2 separate regions of the Homo sapiens genome follow, and region 1 is linked to region 2. The links are contacts of gene promoters, found by promoter capture Hi-C in blood cells and fetal thymus (Javierre and others, 2016). All regions are on one chromosome and are shown on one strand. The core of a region is centred on a gene start or on the middle of the fragment in contact, and the rest is flanking DNA. Distances in the headings are between cores, read along the strand shown. Region 1 has its middle 4.3 kb from the start of MIR1321. Region 2 holds the start of DACH2 (dachshund family transcription factor 2).

Region 1 (3,778 bases), core at 601-3,100, 310 kb before region 2:
CCACCCAGATTGAGGGTGGGTCTGCCTCTCCCAGTCCACTGACTCAAATGTTATTCTCCTTTGGCAACACTCTCACAGACAAACCCAGAAATAATACTCTGCATCCTTCAATCTAATCAAGTTGACACTCAATATTAACCATCACAGGTGTTTTAGCAACATGTGGGACATATTTTCCTACTAATGAATTGAGAAAGACTCTTCTAAACAAGATGCAAAGTCCAGAGCCATAAAAGAAAATATTAAGTGAATTGTCTATATCAAAATTTAAAATTTCTAGGTAATGAATCACACCATAAAAGTTAAAATCTAGAATGAAAAAAAGATTTGCAATATGTGTAATGAAGTATTAATATGAAAATATAAAAAGAATTTTTGCAAGTTATAATAGTGGCAAGGGCATAAACTGAGAAATCATAGAAGAGGTAACTGAAAATTGGCATTGAACATATGTTTCGATGTATAAGGAGGGAAATGCATAGTATAACAATATGATACCATATTTTTTAGCTCATTAGATTGGCAGACATTTAAAAAGTAATAATATCTAGTATCAGTGAGTGGAAATCAGCTTTTTTAAAGTACCATTTGGCAGTCTATCAAAATGTAAAGTGTACATACCCTTTAAACCAGTAATTCAACCACTAAGACTCTATCTACCAGAGATATGCATGTGAACAGAGATATAAGTATGAGATGTTTGTTGAATCATTACTTAAAAGAACAATAAAACTGAAAACAACCAAATATTCATTAATAATTGTTGGATAAATAGATTTCATACCATGGAATGGTACGCAGCAATAAATAAGAGGGACGAACATTTTTATGTGCTATATTTTATGATGTCTAAGATATAGTTGTTGAAATAAGCCAATTACAGAACTATGATGTGAGCCAACTTATGTTTTTAGAAAACATTTAAAAAGACCCTATACCCTTATACTCAGTGTGTGTGTGTGTGTGTGTGTGTGTGTGTGTGTTTGTATACACATGCATAAGTGGAGAAAAATATCTGAAAGAACACACCAAACATCAGTTTTACATCTGGGAAGAAGTTATATTATAAATGGTGGTAAAGGAATATTTCAAAAAATGTAGAAAATTCAAAAGTAGAAAGAAAAAAGACTGTTCACAAATTCCCTCAATTCAAAGCTAACTATTGTTACCCTTCTGTGTACACACACATACATATATGCACGTAGATATCTCTAGCTCTCTTTTACACAACGTGGGATCCCACATACATGCTACTTTCATAACTTGCTTTTTTGTTTAACCATACACTGTGGATTTTTTTCATGACATTAATTGCCTATTTTATTTATTTAACAATAACTTATAGTGCATACTATATTCCAGGCACTTTCCCAAATACCATACATATACATAAATCTGAATTCTTTCAATGCTTTTTAAAGGTATTATTGTTACTGCTATAAAAGCATTATCATTTGTGTACGTAACATCAACATTAATCATTCAGATGAAGGAGAAATAAGGAAAGAGTGCCTATCACTGTAATGGAACTGAGAAAATTTTCAGAGGACCTTCCATGCACAGGTTGAGGCCCTTCTAGAGAATACCTGGAAAATGTTATTTGGATCTGGACCGCAACATGAAGAGAGAAGCAAGTTAATGACTCTTTTTACAAAACTCTATTCATATACACAGCACATTTTTGTTATACATCCAAGTAATTTTTTTAAACCACAAAGAGAATTACCAGTCAAGTAGCTCTGACACAAGCTTCCTTTGATTAGACCTCCCATGCTGGTAGCCACTGCAACTGCTTGGATCTTTTTTTTTTTCAAGACAAGTCCCATTTGCCACAGAGATTTATAGTATTTCCATTTCAGCCTGTATAGCACTAATCACTATTAGAATATGGGCAAAAAGCCTGTTAATAAATATAGTGATGGAATCCATAACAGATGCTTTTCTCACAATAAAAGCTTGAATTTCACACACCTCCTAAATTTCCTGTGTCTCATGACCAAATTTCAGGTATTTGGAAAGTTTGTTTGATAAAGTGTCACTTGGGGATAAGAGATGGGCCATTTCTCTTGGGATTAAACCTGAATATTTAGACTTCATTGCCTCTTTGAATGTACTCTTATAGATGTCACTTTTCAACTTGCAGGTTTAAGTATCTAAAACCACTAACACCAAGTAATGAGAAGGACTCTAGTCTGATTATACTAAACATCTCGGTTCAAGTTCACTAAAAATTCTCCAGCACATCTGCTGTTACAGTCATGGTGGAGAGAAGAGTGGCCTGGTAATTAGAAAACCTGGCTCCTAATCCTGGCTCTGTCCTTAATCATGCAAACAGTAATGCTATCTTTTCTTGAGTTCTATTCTACATGTCAGGTGCTTTGCTGAGTGCTTCACATGGATTTTGACATATTGACTCTTACAAACATCCTATGAAGTAGGTACTATCATTATTCTTGTTTAACAGGCAAGGAAACTGATAACTAGAAAGATTGAAATGATTTGCTAAGAGTTACAGCTAACAGCCCAGCATCACACCCATGAGTGCCCACGCATGTGGACAAGGGGCCTGGGGATCAACCCACTAGCTCAATGCCATCAGTGTCCACCCACATGTTTCAGAAACCTGAGGACAAGCCATTCCAGCCTGCTGGTGCCTATGCACACCAGCTGAGAGCCTGGAGATCAACCAGCCACACCTGCCACAGCCTGCATCCGTGTGCACCATCAGGAGCCTGAGGACAGGCTAGCTCTCCCTGGCACCACCTCCTCTAGTGCCCATATATGTCTTTGGGGGTTCTGGGGATTGGATTGCCTCACCTGCTGCCAGTGGTATCCAGAAACTCTTCCTGGAGGTCTGAGGATGTGCCCACCTGTCCTGCTACCACCACCACTGCCAGCACCTACTTGCATAAACCACCTGGTAACCTGGGGATTGGCCCACCCAGTTTGCAGCTGCCACTGCTGATGTCTGTGCATACCACATGAAGGGCCAAGAGCTGGCCTGCCACAGCTACTGCCACCATTGTCAATTGCTACACACCATCCAGGGACCCAAAGACACACTTGACTTACTGTTACCACTCCACTGCTGGAACATGAACAAGATACCTGGAGGCCCAAGGATCAACCTGCCTTGACCCACTACCACCAGATCTCACACACACTTTCATGGGGGCCCAATGACTGGCATGTTTGGCCCACTGCTGCCACCACTAGGGCCCAAGGATCAGCCCATCTGACATCCCTGTCTCCAGTAAGGCCCTACCACATCCTCCACTAACAACTTCAGCCTAAGCCACTGAAGAACTCACAGACACCATTTATGCTGATTGCAGTCAAATAAATCATACAGAGACTACAGAAAAGCGTGCACCCAGAATCAATGGAAAATCACCCAATCCAACCAGAACTATAGATAAATTTATAAGAAACAGTCTTTACCTACAAAATCCTATCCATAAAATAAGTGACTGCTACATCAGACATGCAAATATCAACATAAGAACACAAGAAACATGAAAAAACAAGGAACTATGACACCTCCAAAGAACATAATTCTCCCGCAATAGATTCCACTGAAAAAGAAATCCATAAAATGCCTGAAAAAATGCAAAATGATATTAGAGAAGCTCAGTGAGATGCAAAAGAACACAGATAAACAATACAAAGAAATCAGAAAAAAAAGATTTATAATCTAAATGAGAAATTCAACACAGATAACTATCATAAAAAAGAATCAAACAGAAGTCTTGGAGCTGAGGAATTCAATGGGTGAAAT
Region 2 (4,164 bases), core at 1,468-3,967:
CTTTTGCGTGTTGAAAACTTCCAAAGAACTTTAACCTTTCAATGATCAATGGCCAATTTGAGTCTCTAGTATTTCTGCTAGAAATAGAACCGTAATCTTTAGTAATAATTAAAATATTACTGTAAACCTGATACATCTCATTAAACACATGACTTTTAATTTGTGCCTTTTCTAAAGTTGTCAAAGTATGTCTGTTCTTCAATTTCACAATTACTGATTACAGCATGAATGAATAATCTGCCTTTCTTTTTTTATATTTCAGATTTCTTAAATTTGAAACATCAAAATATCTGTGCAATGTTTTATTGCTGAAAACCCCAAATTGCTCTGCAAATAAAAAGGCCTTGATAATGTGGGCACAGCTACATACAAGGGGTAGCTTGGCCTTAGGATTTTTAACGTAATTAGAGCCATTTGAAAATAAAACATCCTTTACAGCCAAACTTATTCACCTGGAAATTTCAATCACAATAAGTTATCAGAGGCAAGCTATTTCAACAGATAGTTTAACAGCCATTTCAGTCAAAACACCTGTTGAATACAATTTGGGATTTCTCTTTTTAAAAACTGGTAAATACAAACATTTCTGTCAGTGCTGTTTTATTCTTTTTTGATACTTCTACTTTTGGTTGAGGCGTTTTCTGCCTTTGCTATTTCTTCTCAATTGTCCTTTTTTTGCCCCTTATTACTTTCTTCCCACAACAGTATCGATGTAGCAAAAACATTTTGATGCCTTTTAAAAATGTCTCGTGGCTGCCTATATCCCAATCTATTATGTTAGAGTCATATCACTGCATTTTGAAAGCAATGATCATCACAACTTCTTAGCATTTTAACCCTGTACAATTTGAAATTGAAACAGTATGAAGAGATTCAAAGGGCAGTTCTTAAACCTGGTTGATGAAATGAGAAAAGAAGAAAATATGTTGTAGAAAGAGGCAGAAAAATCCAATTTAGGGTATCTGTAACTAAATAAGGGAGCAAAAAGAACCCACACATTTCTCGTTGATCCTGCTAAGTACAACTAGGGCTGAATAAAATTCAGTAAGTTTCCAACATTATTTATATTTTAGAAGAATATCAGAGAAGTTACCATAAGCCATGTAGTTGGTAACGTTTTGTAAAGAAACGAAACCTGGATTTCACTTTATGAATAACTAACAGCCTCCAGAGAAGAGGAGCACAGGAAAGGAAATATCTTGGTTTTAGAGAATGAATAGCTTGACAAGGAGTCTTAAAACAACTTTGCTAGGCCAGGAGCGGTGGCTCACGCCTGTAATCCCAGAACTTTGGGAGGCCGAGGAGGGCGGATCACGAGGTCAGGAGTTCGAGACCAGCCTGGCCAATATGGTGAAACCCTGTCTCTACAAAAAAAAAAAAAAGTATGTATATGTGTGTATATATATGTATATATATGTATATGTGTGTATATATATATGTATATGTATACATAAATTAGCCAGGCATGGTGGCGCGCACCTGTTGTCCCAGTTACTCGGCCGAGGCAGGAGAATCGCTTGATCCCCGGAGGCGGAGGCTGCAGTGAGCCGAGACTGTGCCACTGCACTCTAGTCTGGGCGACAGAGTGAGAATCTGTCTCAAAACAAACAAAAACAACTTTGCTAAGGCGATCTAACCACCATATGCTGTGTGGAAAAGACCATTCCTTTTCCCTGGAATGTACCCTGCTTAGACATTTTGTTCTATAAGCTCTTAGTACGTTTGGGACGCTTGATGAGTGGGGGAAGTGGAATCTTGTTTAGGACTGGAGCTCCAATCACTGGACCTTCAAAGCCAATGGAAGAGGAAGGAAAATGCACGTTCAAGAATGCAAACCCTCGCCCTTTCCTCATATTCCGTGATGACTGTTTTGAGTCCTAAACAAACATTTCCTATCAATTTTAGCGGGGAGTAGGGCCAGGGCAATCTCGACACTAAGGGACGGGGACACAGACAAGTCTCTTCCAGGACAGTGGCGGAAGTGCCATAAAATGAGGTGTCCATCTGCCACCCACAGAGCAAGTCTCTCTGTTTCCCAAAGTGTTCACAGGCTCACTACGCTTCCTGAATGTCAGTGCGAGTTAGCAACCAGAACTCTGATCTGAGTATGATCTCGGACGCTTGTTCCTCTGCGCGCTGGGTAGGGGAAAATTTACACCAAGCGCACTTAGGTGGGCTAAAGGGCTGAGCTGTTTACTTCTGAACTCGCTAGCGTCTTTCTCCCGGAAGCTAGGCGAAGCCATCTATTAGCCCCCGCAGAGTTTGGGAGAGATGCGCAAGTGGAATTGGAGCTGCCACCTCACTTTCCACGATCTAACCCGGTGTAAGGTGGCGGAAGGGGCATGGGGAGGCACGTTCAGGAGTCGCGCTTTGCGTTTCCACCCCGACACCAGCGGAGCGCGGAGCGGATGGGTTCACAGCATAGGCCACTTTGAGAACTCTGCGTGACATCTGGGAGTTCTCTCGTCTGGCAGAGAGGCAAGAAGCAGAGGCACCACACCGCCCCCTTCTCGGACTGGATCTCTGTTCTTGGTCGAGCCTGGACCCACTCAGGTAGTCGGACGCCGGCCAGGGAGTCTCCACCTCCTCACCAGCGGCAGCCATTCGGAGCGCTCGGGCGCAGAAGGGCTGGGGCCCATTGGCTGTGGGACGCTGCCAGTCTCCGGAGGGGGTGTGGTGGGGGTGGGGTCTGGGGCCGCAGCGGGTCGGGGCTGCTCACTGTTTGTTGAGCTTGAGCGTGAGCCGGCTGCTGAAGACTTGCGAACAGTTCGGAGCCAGCGAGAGCGCGCCAGAGAGAGCGAGAGTGAGGGAGTGAGTGCGAGGGGATCTAGAGGAGTCAGGGCGAGAAAGCGAGGGCCGGAGGACCCACGATAGAGACAGAGTGACCATGGCTGTCTCCGCATCTCCAGTGATCTCTGCAACTTCCAGCGGCGCCGGCGTCCCGGGGGGCTTATTCCGGGCCGAACCCCTGTACTCGACTCCCAGAGAGCCCCCTCGTCTTACTCCTAATATGATCAATAGTTTCGTGGTTAATAACCACAGCAACAGTGCCGGAGGCGGCGGCAGGGGCAACACCAACACCAACGAGTGCCGCATGGTCGACATGCACGGGATGAAGGTGGCTTCGTTCCTGATGGACGGCCAGGAACTGATCTGCCTGCCGCAAGTCTTTGATCTTTTTCTCAAGCACCTGGTGGGAGGCTTGCACACTGTGTACACCAAGCTGAAGAGACTGGATATATCCCCCGTGGTGTGTACTGTTGAGCAGGTCCGGATCCTCCGCGGGCTGGGGGCCATCCAGCCCGGGGTAAACCGCTGCAAACTCATCACCAGGAAAGACTTCGAAACTTTGTTCACCGATTGCACCAATGCCAGGTGAGACACTCGTTTCTTGGCTCTCCCACTTCTCTTACCCCTTTGGCCTCTTCTGCATGCCTCACCACCCTCATCCAACTTTGTTTGTAGAGTGAGTCTTAACTAGTTTGCCTCTATTCTTCACGCTGTAAATCGGTGGGGAAAGAGGACTAGAAGCTTTCATTAATGCTGGTGCCTTCTAGTCCACGCTCAGTGCAAGGGCTTCGGTCTAAAAAAGTCCCGCAAACTTGAGTTTGCAGTCCTCTATTGAAACTTTCCAGCCTTTTGCCCATATCTTGCATGGCTTTTGGCTGTTCGTGGTTATTTGTTAATTTCTCTATTTGGTTTTCTTTCCTGCTCTTTTGTGGCCGCACGGGTCGGATAGGTTTTCTTCTGAACACGGATACCAAGGGCTTTCTCTGGGGGCTGGCTGAGCTGTAAACTGGGCTCCTAAGCTGGCAAGCCAGAACACAGCATTTGGGGCATGCAGGGGGTGGGAAGTCTAGAATCCATCCCAGAGGGTGATTCGATCCCCATCCCGTGTGTTTGTTGTGAGAATGTGTGGGGTGTGTGGTGTTGTTGTTTGTGGTGGTGTTGGTGTGTATGTGTGCAAGTGCGCGTGAGAACGTATGCTCATGCTTGCTGCGCAAAGCTCCCCAGTACACGATACAGGAAAGTCGATGGATACTATTTTTACAAAAGGACGACGACAAATATCACTTTCCTGGGATCGTCCGTTTTGGGTTATCTGCAGAGGGCAATGTGGGGCATGAACCACTGTGGCTGGGACTGGATTGGAGGTTGGTGTAC

What was found. The method cuts DNA at HindIII sites, captures the fragments that hold promoters and counts their contacts. A CHiCAGO score of 5 or more calls a contact.
Region 1: a fragment that was not itself captured here is called in contact with the fragment with the promoter of DACH2 in region 2 in 2 of 17 cell types (total B cells and activated CD4 T cells); the score reaches 6.2 in total B cells.

Annotation. Positions count from the first base shown.
Region 1 is chrX:85,838,228-85,842,005 of GRCh38, forward strand. No RefSeq gene overlaps it. Among named protein-coding and RNA genes, the nearest start is that of MIR1321, 4.3 kb to the left of the region's middle. The HindIII fragment of the contact is 206 bases long and covers 1,748-1,953 here.
Region 2 is chrX:86,145,734-86,149,897 of GRCh38, forward strand. DACH2 (dachshund family transcription factor 2) reads left to right here and starts at 2,718. Exons shown (of 12, transcript NM_053281.3): 1 at 2,718-3,375. The coding sequence starts at 2,888. The HindIII fragment of the contact is 4,799 bases long and covers 1-3,529 here.